Regions from separate parts of the Homo sapiens genome. Here regions 1 and 2 are each linked to region 3. The links are contacts of gene promoters, found by promoter capture Hi-C in blood cells and fetal thymus (Javierre and others, 2016). All regions are on one chromosome and are shown on one strand. The core of a region is centred on a gene start or on the middle of the fragment in contact, and the rest is flanking DNA. Distances in the headings are between cores, read along the strand shown.

What was found. Contacts are between HindIII fragments. The CHiCAGO score rates a contact against its expected background, and 5 or more counts as called.
Region 1: a fragment that was not itself captured here is called in contact with the fragment with the promoter of DRC11 in region 3 in 12 of 17 cell types (M2 macrophages, M0 macrophages, M1 macrophages and 9 more); the score reaches 33.7 in M2 macrophages.
Region 2: a contact is called between a fragment that was not itself captured here and the fragment with the promoter of DRC11 in region 3, in 2 of 17 cell types (neutrophils and monocytes). The highest score is 7.0, in neutrophils.

Annotation. Positions count from the first base shown.
Region 1 is chr2:237,033,765-237,037,690 of GRCh38, forward strand. The region is part of intron 1 of COPS8-DT (COPS8 divergent transcript); the gene reads right to left. LOC105373950 (a long non-coding RNA gene) reads left to right here and starts at 2,910. Exons shown (of 3, transcript XR_007088140.1): 1 at 2,910-3,926. The HindIII fragment of the contact is 1,403 bases long and covers 1,623-3,025 here.
Region 2 is chr2:237,107,734-237,111,386 of GRCh38, forward strand. No RefSeq gene overlaps it. Among named protein-coding and RNA genes, the nearest start is that of COPS8, 24 kb to the left of the region's middle. The HindIII fragment of the contact is 2,175 bases long and covers 718-2,892 here.
Region 3 is chr2:236,505,701-236,509,632 of GRCh38, forward strand. It overlaps DRC11 (dynein regulatory complex subunit 11), which reads right to left and starts at 1,776. Exons shown (of 19, transcript NM_024726.5): 1 at 1,557-1,776. The coding sequence starts at 1,567. RefSeq lists a silencer at 1,902-1,951. The HindIII fragment of the contact is 24,475 bases long and covers 1-3,932 here.

The DNA of each region.
Region 1 (3,926 bases), core at 1,074-3,573, 530 kb after region 3:
GACTGTCATGTAAATGTGTCCTCACAGGACTTTGAGATCAACAAGTTATGACCTCACATATGCTTTTGACAGTAGGTATTTTTCAATCAAACTGCACCTATTATCATGCAGAAGGCTCTCAAATAGCTAACCTCAAAGGGATCTGTGTGCTCTATAAAATTTAGAACAGCTTCTCCATAATTTGGAGTCTTTAGGAGAATACAATATATTCTAATGGAGATATTTATCATCAGAAGTTTACAAAGACATATGAAACAAAAGCTCAGTTGCAAGACATTAAGAGACAGTGCAAATAGCAAGCAATTAACTAGGAATTTTCTTTGGTCAAGTTTCTTCCCTGATATGAAACTCACTTCATGTTTAGCTTCCCCTGTTCTAAAAATCCAGCAACACTACAATAAGTTCACTCTCTGCATTCACTTCATACTATGTTCCTAATGCTGCACTGGCAACTTTGCTGCTCACTTTTAATTAAAGCACAAGGGTTGTGGGAAAAACGACTTCTGCAGGCATTGTAATCACTCTGAGGGACTGCTTTATCTGTCCTCTAACTCTCTATGTTGGCCTCTGAATAAAGCTGCCCTCAAATGGGTGGACAGTCAAGTACTCTTCATGGGGGTCTTAGTTCTAGAAGGCACAGAGATGACGTATGTGGGAATTCCAAACACAGGCAGGAAGAGGGAAAACACATGGAAGTGATTTTAGTGCCTAATTTTGGCTATCTCTATACAAGTATGACAAGATCGAACACATCTGAAAGAAGGAATCGGCACTGACATTTTATATCAACTCATTTAAGAGCATTGCTAAATTCATCGCAACCTTTGATATTCAAGACCCATAAATATCAAGACGTGTGCGTGTGTCTATGTGCATGTGTGTGTGTTACAGATACAGACCTCACCATTTCACCATTTGTGCATTGCTGCAACTCTGTCGAGCTTGGTTTCAGCCTTATATAACCCTGGTGGGAAAACTCAACTAGAGTGAGGCAGTGGCTTCTCCACCAGGGTGTGACAGTGGAGAACCAAACAGATAGGTAGAAGTATGGACCCAGCCCCTCCCCTTTTCTCAATACAGGCCATTTTCATCAGTCTATCTAATTTGTTTATGCCTTTATCCATGTATTTAGGTGTGTACAAAAGTTGGGCTGCTAAAGAAGTTTGAAATCCACTGCCCTCATCTACATTTTCACTGATGCATAAATAAATTGCTTTATTTGAGTCAAAATGCATTTATTTTGTGAGGGATTAAAAGGCCAACTATATTGCAATTAATTCTAGAGCCTATTTTTGTTTTAAGAATGAACTAATGGGGACCTATACATGTTGCAGCCATCCAGGTTTTTTTTTTTTTTTTTTTTTTAAGCAATTAAAGCAGCAACACAAATCCCTTGGTGTCCTGGAGAAGATGGGGTGGGTCAGAGGAGAAGCAGCACAGGTGGTAGAATCCAGGGACCTGGCCCCACCCAAGTCCTCACCCTAGTACACTACCCCAGTGGCCCTGAGCAAGCATTTGATCACTGCCATTATGTCTGCTGTGCTGGGGGTGGAGGAAATGGGAATGATATCGTCAGTACTCCCAATGCTAAAGGATGGTTGAGAGGATCAGCCTGATCTACAAGCTTGTTTTCAATTAATATTTTCAAATATAAGTTTGGGAGGGGAAAAACATTCAAGCCAAAGCATAGGATATACCTGTTTAATGAGAAATACATAATGAGAACATTAGGATGATCACAAGAGGGGCTTCATATGGGGTCTAAAACAGAATTAAATTCTAGCAAGCTAAAGATTGTTTCCGGACGGGCATGGTGGCTCACGCCTGTAATCCCAATACTTTGGGAGGCTAAGACAGGTGGATCACTTGAGGCTAGGAGTTTGAGACCAGCCTGGGACACCTGGTGAAACCCCAACTCTACTAAAAATACAAAAATTAGCTGGGCGTGGTGGCACATGTCTGTAATCCCAGCCACTCAGGAGGCTGAGGCACGGGAATCACTTGTACCCGGGAAGCGGAGGCTGCAGTGAGCCGAGATGGCGCCACTACACTCCAGCCTGGACGACAGAGCAAGACCCTGTCTTGAAAAAAAACCCTGAAATATAAAAAGTGAAAGATTGTTTTCCTAAGGAAATCAAAAAGAAACAGTCATGGGGTTATGTTGCTAGGAAAGGAGGAAAGTGAAGGCAATTTGTCACCCTGAGAAAGAATGGACTTCTGCTTGACATCTCTAGCTCTGTTTTTCCTTTGTTCTTTTAAATAAATAAACAAAACATAAAGAGAGGAAAGCCCAGAATTCCAAAATAATTTAGCATAAGCAAAGGGAGACAGACTCCAGAGAGACCCACAGTCGGCTTCCCAGCCGGCCCTCCGAGCTTGTTCTCAACTTTTCCTGATACCTCCGCCCTGCCCTGCTGCCCCCACAGCTCTTTCTGCAAAGTGTCAGGGACTCCACCCTCGGGAGGGTCTCACTTTCCACATGAGCGGCTCCTCTTCGCATGTTTCCTAATTGGACCTATTTAAATCAGGAATCCACTGCCTTGTGCAATTAGGCATCTAATAATTGTTCAAAGTTGATGGTAATTTTTATAAGTTTGCCAAGGTCATTTAAGCCTAATGAACTTGAGTTCAATCCAAACTCTAAGTAATGGCTCATTTACAGTTTGGATGTGTTCAGTATACAGTAAGTTGGTTTTTTCTCTAACTGCACTGGTTTGCTAAGATATTTCTGACAATAATTTTTTAGTAATGCCCTTTGTGGAGTAATGAGATTCTGAGACCATGGCCTTTAAGATACTTGGGTAAGGTTTACTTATGTAACTGTATTGTATCCTCCGTACAAGCCTTTTTATCCCTTATTTTTTTTCTCATTGTTTTTTCTCATTGTTTCCTTAGAATATTCATTTTTTCTTCATTATTTTTTCTCATTGTTTCCTTAGAATATTCATTTTTTTCTTTTTTCAATTTTATTTAACATCATTATGTCTTTTTTCCTCCACCCTATGGAAGGTACTTTTTACACAAAAGCTTCTGTCACTAACTATGATTGGAAATGTGACATCCAGTGTGAACATTTATCTTAACAGAATCATTAATTTACAACAAAATGCTAAATACCAGTCCCCTCCAGGAAACAGTGAAGCAGACTTTGCATTCCTTAGCTTTTTTCTTATAAAAGATATTTTAGATCCATTTTACTGCATGAATCATTTCTCTTCCAAATCCAATATGTTAAACGATTTCACAGTATAGCACTTATCAAAACCTACATCCTGGCCAAGTGCAGTGGCTCACATCTGTAGTCCCAGCACTTTGGGAAGCCGAGGTGGGCGGATCACCTGAGGTAAGGGGTTCGAGACCAGCCTGACCAACATGGTGAAACCCCATCTCTACTAAAAATACAAAAATTAGCCGGACGTGGTGGTGCATGCCTGTAATCCCAGCTACTTGGGAGGCTAAGGCAGGAGAATTGCTTGAACCCAGGAGGCGGAGGTTGCAGTGAGCCGAGACCATGCCACTGCATTCCGGCCTGGGTGACAGGGTAAGACTCTGTCTCAAAAACAAAAAACAAAACAAAACAAAACCCTACATCCTGTGCCAGGTCCTAGAATGATTCCACAATAGTGGTGGTGTCCCCTGCTGGGTTTGACCCTGTTCTTTATTTCAGCTAGTGTCCGCAGCAATGACTCTCAGCAGATGCTTGTCACAGCGGAGGGCATGTTTCATGCTAGCAGCTGCACTGCATTTGATGTGCAGGACAGCCCTAGGAGGGTTGCTATTCCCATTCTACAGATAAGGGAACTGACGGTCCAGAGTCACATAGTGAGAGCAGTGAAGCCAGGATTTAGACTTCTGTAGGTCTGAATTCGAACCCAGTCACTGCACTGTACATGTACGAGTTTCCTCTTTCAACCACATGGAACTGA
Region 2 (3,653 bases), core at 555-3,054, 600 kb after region 3:
GCTACAAAAATGCTTAGGAATAAATTTAACCAAGGAAGTGAAAGACCTCTACAATAAAAACTACAGAACATTGATTAAAGAAATTGAAGAAGACACAAATACATGAAAGATACACTGTGTTTAATGAATTGGAATAACTAATATTGTTGAATTGTTCATACTACCCAAAGTGACCTACAGACTCAGTGCAATCCCTGTCAAAATACCAATGACATTCTTCACAGAAATAGAAAAATGAATCCAAAAATTGATATGGAACCACAATAGACCTTAAATAGCCAAAGCAATCTTGACAGAAAAAAAAAAAAGCTGGAGGCATCACACTCTCTGACTTCAAAGTATATTACAAAGCTGTAATAGCCAAAAACTCATAGTACTGGCATAAAAACAGACACACAGAACAGAGAGCCCAGCCAACTGATTTTTGGCAAAGATTCTAAGAACACACCTTGGAGAATGGACATTCTCTTCAATAAATGGTGTTGGGAAAACTGGATATTCACATGTGGAAGATGAAATGAGACCCTTATCTCCACCGTATAAAAAATAAAAAATGGATTAAAGACTTACATGTCAGATCTAAAATTATGAAACTATTAGAAGAAAACACGGGAAATTCCTTATGACATTGGTCTGTGCAAGGATGTTTTGGATAAGACCTTAAAAGCACAGCCAATGAAAGCAAAAATAGACAAATGGGCTTACATCAAACTAAAAAGCTTCTGTATAGCAAAGGATACAATCAACAGAGTTCAGAGACAACCTGTAGAAATGGGAGAAAATACATATAAACTATACATATGACAAGTGGCTAATATTCAAAATACGCAAAGATCTTAACAAAAAACAAATAGCCCATTTAAAAAATGGGCAAAGGACGTGAATAAACATTTCTCAAAGAAGACATACAAGGTCCAATAGATGTATGAAAAAATACTCAGCATCACTAATTATCAAATTATCAGGGAAATGCAAATCAAAACCACAAAGTGATGTCACCTCACCCCAATTAAAATGACCATTATCAAAAAGACAAAAGCTAACAAGTGTTGATGAGGATGAGGAGAAGAGTGAATGCTTAAAAACAGTTAGTGGGAGTGTAAAATGGTACAGCTTTATGTAAAATAGTATGTTCATATCCAAAGGAGATGAAATCAGTATGTTAAAAAAAATCTGCCCTTCTTGTTGATCACAGCATTGTTCACAATAGCCAAGATATGGAATTAACCTAAGTGTCCATCAATGGATGCATGGATAAAGAAAATGTGGTATATATGTGGAATGGAATACTATTCAGCCATAAAAACTGAAATTTATGACAACATGGATGAACCTGGTAGACATCAAGTTAAGTGAAATAACAAGCACAGGAAGACAAATACCTCATAATTTTGTCCATATGTGGAATCTAAAAATGGTGATCTCATAGAAGTAGAGAGTACAATTGCAGTTACCAGAGCCTGGGGAAGTTAGGTTAAGGTAGTCTGGGGACATGTTGGTCAAAGCATACATAATTACAATTAGATAGAAGGAATAAATATCAAGAGCTCTGTTGTACAGCAAGGTATATTGTATTCTTGAAAAATGTATAGAGCAATGTTATGTGCTATCACCACAAAAATGATGACTGTGTAGCAAAAAGCACACCTAACCCTCAGATCCTTGCTTCTAGAAGCATTTTCCACTAAAAGGAATTAGGGACTTCCACTTTGGCTCTGACGGACTAATAGGATTCAGAATTATCCTCCCATCGTAAATTTAAAAAATGCATGCAGTATAGGAAATGATTATTTTCCGACATCAGACAACTGGAAATACTAGATGTAATTCTGGAGAGAGGAGGAACAAAGAAGGTAAGCCTTAAAGTCTACTATGCTTTCTGCCTGGGGGCAAATAACACTGCAGCTCAGCAAAGTGGAGCTCAAATAGAGCGTGGCAATCTTACTAATTGAAGAGCATAGATTCAAAAGGCTGAGGGAGCTAAAATTTGTAGGGTGGAGTTTGATAAAGGGTGGGGGACTAGTCAGAGAAATAGTTGTATATATTTGCATAGACATCTGCTTGAGTCTTTGGTTGAGTGCCAGTCTGCTCATGTGTAGGGTGAAATCCCATGAGGTGGGCAAGAATAGCTTCCAAGGAAAGAACAATTACTGGAAAACTATGAGAAAAAAAAATTAACAAAGAGCTAGAAATCATTCAAGATCCCTTCATCTATAGTAAGAAGACCTCATTGACTAAATGGAGTGTTCACTAGAGACTCCAGAAGGGCCACACCTTAGTAGTGGGGCTAAATTAGCCCTAAATTAAAGGTAAATATAGATCTTCTGTACAAAAGTTTAAAAGAGCTTCAAAACAGCTAAATCCACAAGTTACATAATTGGTTGCAACACTCTTTGAAGACATACTTCAAAATTCAGCACTCTACAACCTAACCTCACAATGCTCAACAACAAATAAAAAATTATTAGACATTATGTGAATAAGAAAAATGTTATAACTAGGAGAAAAATCACTTACTAGAAACAGACACAGAAATGAAAGGAATGATGGAAATAGCAAACAGAGATGATAAAACAGATATGATGAATATACTTTAAGTGTTTAAGGATATAAAGGAAAACATAAACACAATGAGTATAGAAATAGAAGAGATATAAAAGACCAAGGTGAAACTTTTACAGATTAAAAAAATACAAGATCTGAAATGAAAATTTCTCTGGATTGTTTTAATGTCAGAATAGACCCTACAGAAGAAAATATCAATGAATTATAAGGAACAGGATATATCTCAGAGGAAGTTTAGAGGAAAAGAAAGAATTAAAAATGAGTGGATTAATATCAAGAGGTCTAATGCAAGTGTGATTAGAGTCCCCACAAGCTAAGATGAAGTAAAGCTTTTTGAAGAATTAGCCAAAAATTTGATGAATAGTACATAATCTCACAGATCCAAGAAGTTCAATCAATGCTAACTAGAATAAACACACACATATGTTGTACAAAATACATCATAAAATTGCTGGACAACCGATAAAAATTTTTTTTAAAATTTTAAAGGAGTTGCTGTATCTTAGAGTAGGCGGAGACACATTACATAAAAAGAAAGATAAGAATTTACAGCAATGAGATAATGGAATGACATCTTTAAAGGCCTAAAAGAAAACAACTGTCAAACTAGAATTCTAAAGCCAGTAAAAATGTCCTGAAAAATTAAGGTCAAAGGAAAAAAACAACTTTTTTTTTGACAAACAAAAACTTAAAGAGTTCATCAACAAGAGATCTGCACTGAAATACATGTTAAAGGAAGTTCTTCCAACTGAAATAAAATCATATCAGATCAGATACATTTAGATCTATATGAAGGTATAAAGAACATCAGAAATAGTAAATATGTGGGTAAAATGTCTTTATTTTTTCATTGCTTTAAAAGATAGCTATTTGAAGCAAAAATAATGTAGGATTTTTAATATGTAAAGGTAAAATATATGACAACAATAGTGCAAAGAATTGAAGAGGGAAATGGATATATACTTTTGTAATGGTCTTATATAGTAAGTGGTAAAATACAGTAAAGTTAAATTATAATAAGGAAAAGATATTGAAGCCTAGCGTGAAATGTCCAATATGGTGGCCACTAGCCACAACTGACTAAATTT
Region 3 (3,932 bases), core at 526-3,025:
GCTGCCTTCCTACCTGTTCCATTGTTAAGTGCTGAGTTCCTCTACCTAAGGCCAGCACCCCCTGGATCCCATGTCCTCTCACTACCAACGATGTCACCCACTTCTCCCTCCTCCTCCTATATCATTCTGGGCCATTCCCTTCCACACACAAACATTCTATTGTTTTCTGTCTTGGAGCCATGTCCTCTGCCTCTAGCTGCCAACATATTTCCTTTCCTCTGCAGCAAAACTCCTTTAAAGAGTTAGCTATGCTCACCATCTATAGTTTCTCTCCCCCTACATTCACTTGAGTAAGTCTTTCTATCTCATCATACCACTGAATCAGCTCCTGTCAAGGTCACTGGTGAACTCCACACTGCCAAATCAACAGTCAGTTCTCAGTTCTACCCCAACTTGTCTCAGGAGCACTTGATGGAGGAGAAAGAAGTTACTTCTCCTGGAAACACTATTATTTCTTCCACTCGCTTCTTCCTCATGGATCATGTCTTTGATTCCTTTGCCAGGTCTCCTCTTCCCCCAGCCTTACTGTGGATGATCCCAGGATCAGTCCTTACACCTCTTTATTAATATTCATTCTATGTCTCACAAAGACCATCACAGGCTGACAGTGAGCAAGTTTATATTTCAGACATGGGTCTCGCTCCTGAACCCAAGATCTGAATATTTTAATTGCCTATTTCATCTCCACGTGATGTCCAATGGGCACTTCCAACTCAATACGTCTTAAACAGAACTCTTGATCTTCCCCATTTCCAAACCCTGGCAAGCCTTTAACCTCTCTGCTCTTATTTCCTTGCCTAGAATACAGGGCACGTAATAGCAACAGTGCAGGCTGGAGCTACAGTGCCCGGCTTGGCACTGTTCACTTGCTGTGTGAACTACTTCACCTCTTCATCCCCAAGTTCCCTCATCTGTAAAATGGAAATAACAATATTAACAGCCCCTACGTTACAGGGTTGCTGTGAAGCGGTTAGAACAGTGTCTACAGGGTCAGCGCTGTAATACCTGTTGGAAATTATTCTTACGAAGACCAAATGAGGTAACTTTGTGCAAGTGCTGTGTAAACGACACAGTGCTAGGCACACACTTCTTTCAGTACCAATGCCACTCGAGTCTGTGAAAAGCAAATGTCAATAATGCTTTCCCAAGATCTTTCTAGACTTAAATTTCAGGACCTAGGTGTTTCCACAAAGCACCGTATTTGTTACCGTGAAAGATTAACAAAAAAAGCAGACAAAATGGCATAGTGCTTCTCAGCAATAGCCCCTAAGGGCTTGGCAGGTATACGGAAGACTGGGAGCTCATCCCCATGGGGTGGTGGGACGCGTAGGGGAGGGGGAGATCTAAGTGTATGATTTTCCTTGCTCACAAGAAGCAGATACTCTATCCCGAGGCATATTTGAATTTCCTAAAAGGAAAAAAAGTGGGGGAGAGGAGGGAAGTTGAGAGGGGAGGAGAAAAGAAAAGAAAAAAGAAAATAAGAGAAGCAGAAAGCAAGCCACCTTCTGGCTTGGGGAAGCCCACTCCATGGCTGTGGCTGGGAGCCCATCACTTACGCGTTCGACATTGCTGGCTACTTTCCCTCTTTTCCTCGCCCTCCGGGAAGCTCTTCCGTTGCTCTCTGAAGGACGGTGGCAGCAGGGGTCAGGGCACTACCAGGAGCTACAGAGGATTTGGGTGGGGGGTCTTCTGGAGGGAGAAACCAGGACTGCGAGAATCTTCTGCTTCGGGCAGGAAAAGGTGAGGCCGGGTTTGCTTCGCAGGCACGGAGCGCGCAGGCGCAGAGAGGTGTTTCACTCCTTCCCGTCGCGACCCAGAGACTCGCGAACCTCACTTCGGCCACTCAGGTGGGCGCGACGCGGCCCTAGCAACGGAAACGCCGCGCCTGCGCATTGCCTTCCGCCTGCCCCCTCCCCCCCCCCGCCCCCCGCATTCCGCGCCTGCGCCACCGCGGGAGGCCTGGGTGGGCGCAGCTGTGGGAGCCGGTCGGAGTCCGAGCGCTCCGTCGCGGGGCCCGGCCGCTTGGCGAGCCTGCTCCGGGCCCCAGCACTTAGCCTGTGGTCCTCCAGGCCGTCTTCCCGCTTTCCTGCTGGCCCCATTTTCATCCACTGTCAGCTCTGCGGCCTTGGGCAAGGCCCTTAATGATGGTGGTCTTCAGTTTTCCCATCTGTAAACTGGGTATAACAGTCGTTCGTTCAGAACTTTACTGGGCATCTATTCTGGGCCAAGTGCAGACTTAGATTCTGGGCACCCAAGACTTAGGCAGACGCGCCCTTCGGAGACTTAATGAGTATGAACTAAGGCGCGGGTGCGTTGTAAATGTAAAATGCAGTGTGGATGCTATTAACAGTTATCCGTAAGTCGCTATGAGTGTTGGCTTTCATTGCTCTTCTTTCTTCGACTTTAGTAACTGTTGAGGTTTATTTGCACATTTTAGACCCTGCAGCTCCTATTGGAACGCCAGGTTTAATGCTGTCAAAGGCGTGGAGAGGACATCCAGGTAAAAATTATAATCAGGATCACAAAACCTCTCCCCCACCATTACTAATGAAATGCGCAAAAGCATAGTAAAAGCCAGCCCTCCGCACCGCCTTCAAATAATGGAGCAAATTATTTCTCAGACGAGAAATTGAGTACAACCTTGTACCGTAAACTTCAAAAACTCAGTGAAATAGCAGCTTGCCGTGGAGAATGGTGTCCAGCCTCATCTCCACCCTCCCAAAGCCCTTCAGGGGGCAGAGACCAAGTAGACACAACACCAAGAATTCTCATTAATGCTTTTTGATGCAAAGAATACACACACTGAAAAGAAGGGGTATGAAAGGGTGAGCCGAACGAGGAAACACCTGGGGAAATCCGGCCAGATAAAACCATCCTGAGTGGAGGTCAATCCCTACCGCTCCCAGGACCTGAGCAGGGACAGGAGAAATCTCCAGGGCTTGCCTTTTTCTAGGTCCCTACATTGAATTGAGGCAAAGATTCAAAGTCAAAGGGCATGTTGTCACAGGAATAGGGCACACTCGTGACAAGAGTGGGAGGATGGTGGTAAAGGAGCTTATCAAAATCTCAGAAGAGAGCACAGAGCCTGGAAGTTGTGTGGATTCAAGGGAGCAGTCCTTATCCTAAATGTGTACTCAGGTTCCAGAAAAGCAGAGAAAAGTGCAGTATCTCAGCTCTGGAACTCAGATACAGTGAGAAGACAGTCAAAGAGAATTCGCCCACATTATATTTGAACAAACAGAACATTTTCAAAGAGCAACACGTGTTAAATAGGAATAAGACAGAAAGAAGCAGCATATCCACTGTCTAAAACCAAGACTTTCATAAAAGTAGAAGAAAAGAAAGGATTATAACATAGGCCAGACAAGTGAAAGAAAGTCTGGAGAAAATCTAACCAAATAAATAAAAGCAGAAAAATCTTTTTTGTTTGTTTGTTTTGAGATGGAGTCTCCCCCTGTCACCCAGGCTGGAGTGCAGTGTGTGATCTCGGCTCACGGCAACCTCCACCTCCCGGGTTCAAGCAATTCTCCTGCCTCAGCCTCCCACGTAGCTGGGATTACAGGCGCCTACCACCATGCTCAGCTAATTTTTTGTATTTTTAGTAGAGACAGGGTTTCACCATGTTAGTCAGGCTGGTCTGGAACTCCTGACCTCAGGAGATCTGCCCGCCTCGGCCTCCCAAAATTCTGGGATTACTGGCGTGAGCCATCGCGCCCTGCCAAAACAGAAAAATCTTTACTTGTGCTCCATGCTATAGAATAAGCTAATAAGAACATTAAGGTAATAAAATAAGAACTGGGAGAAAATATAAAACAATGGAATGAGAAAGGAAGGAAGATTACACAGCTAAGGAAACCAAAAGAAAAACAGAAGTAGTGCAATACAGAAAATAAGTTGGAAAAACCAAGAAATAGACCAGGCACAATTCAGCT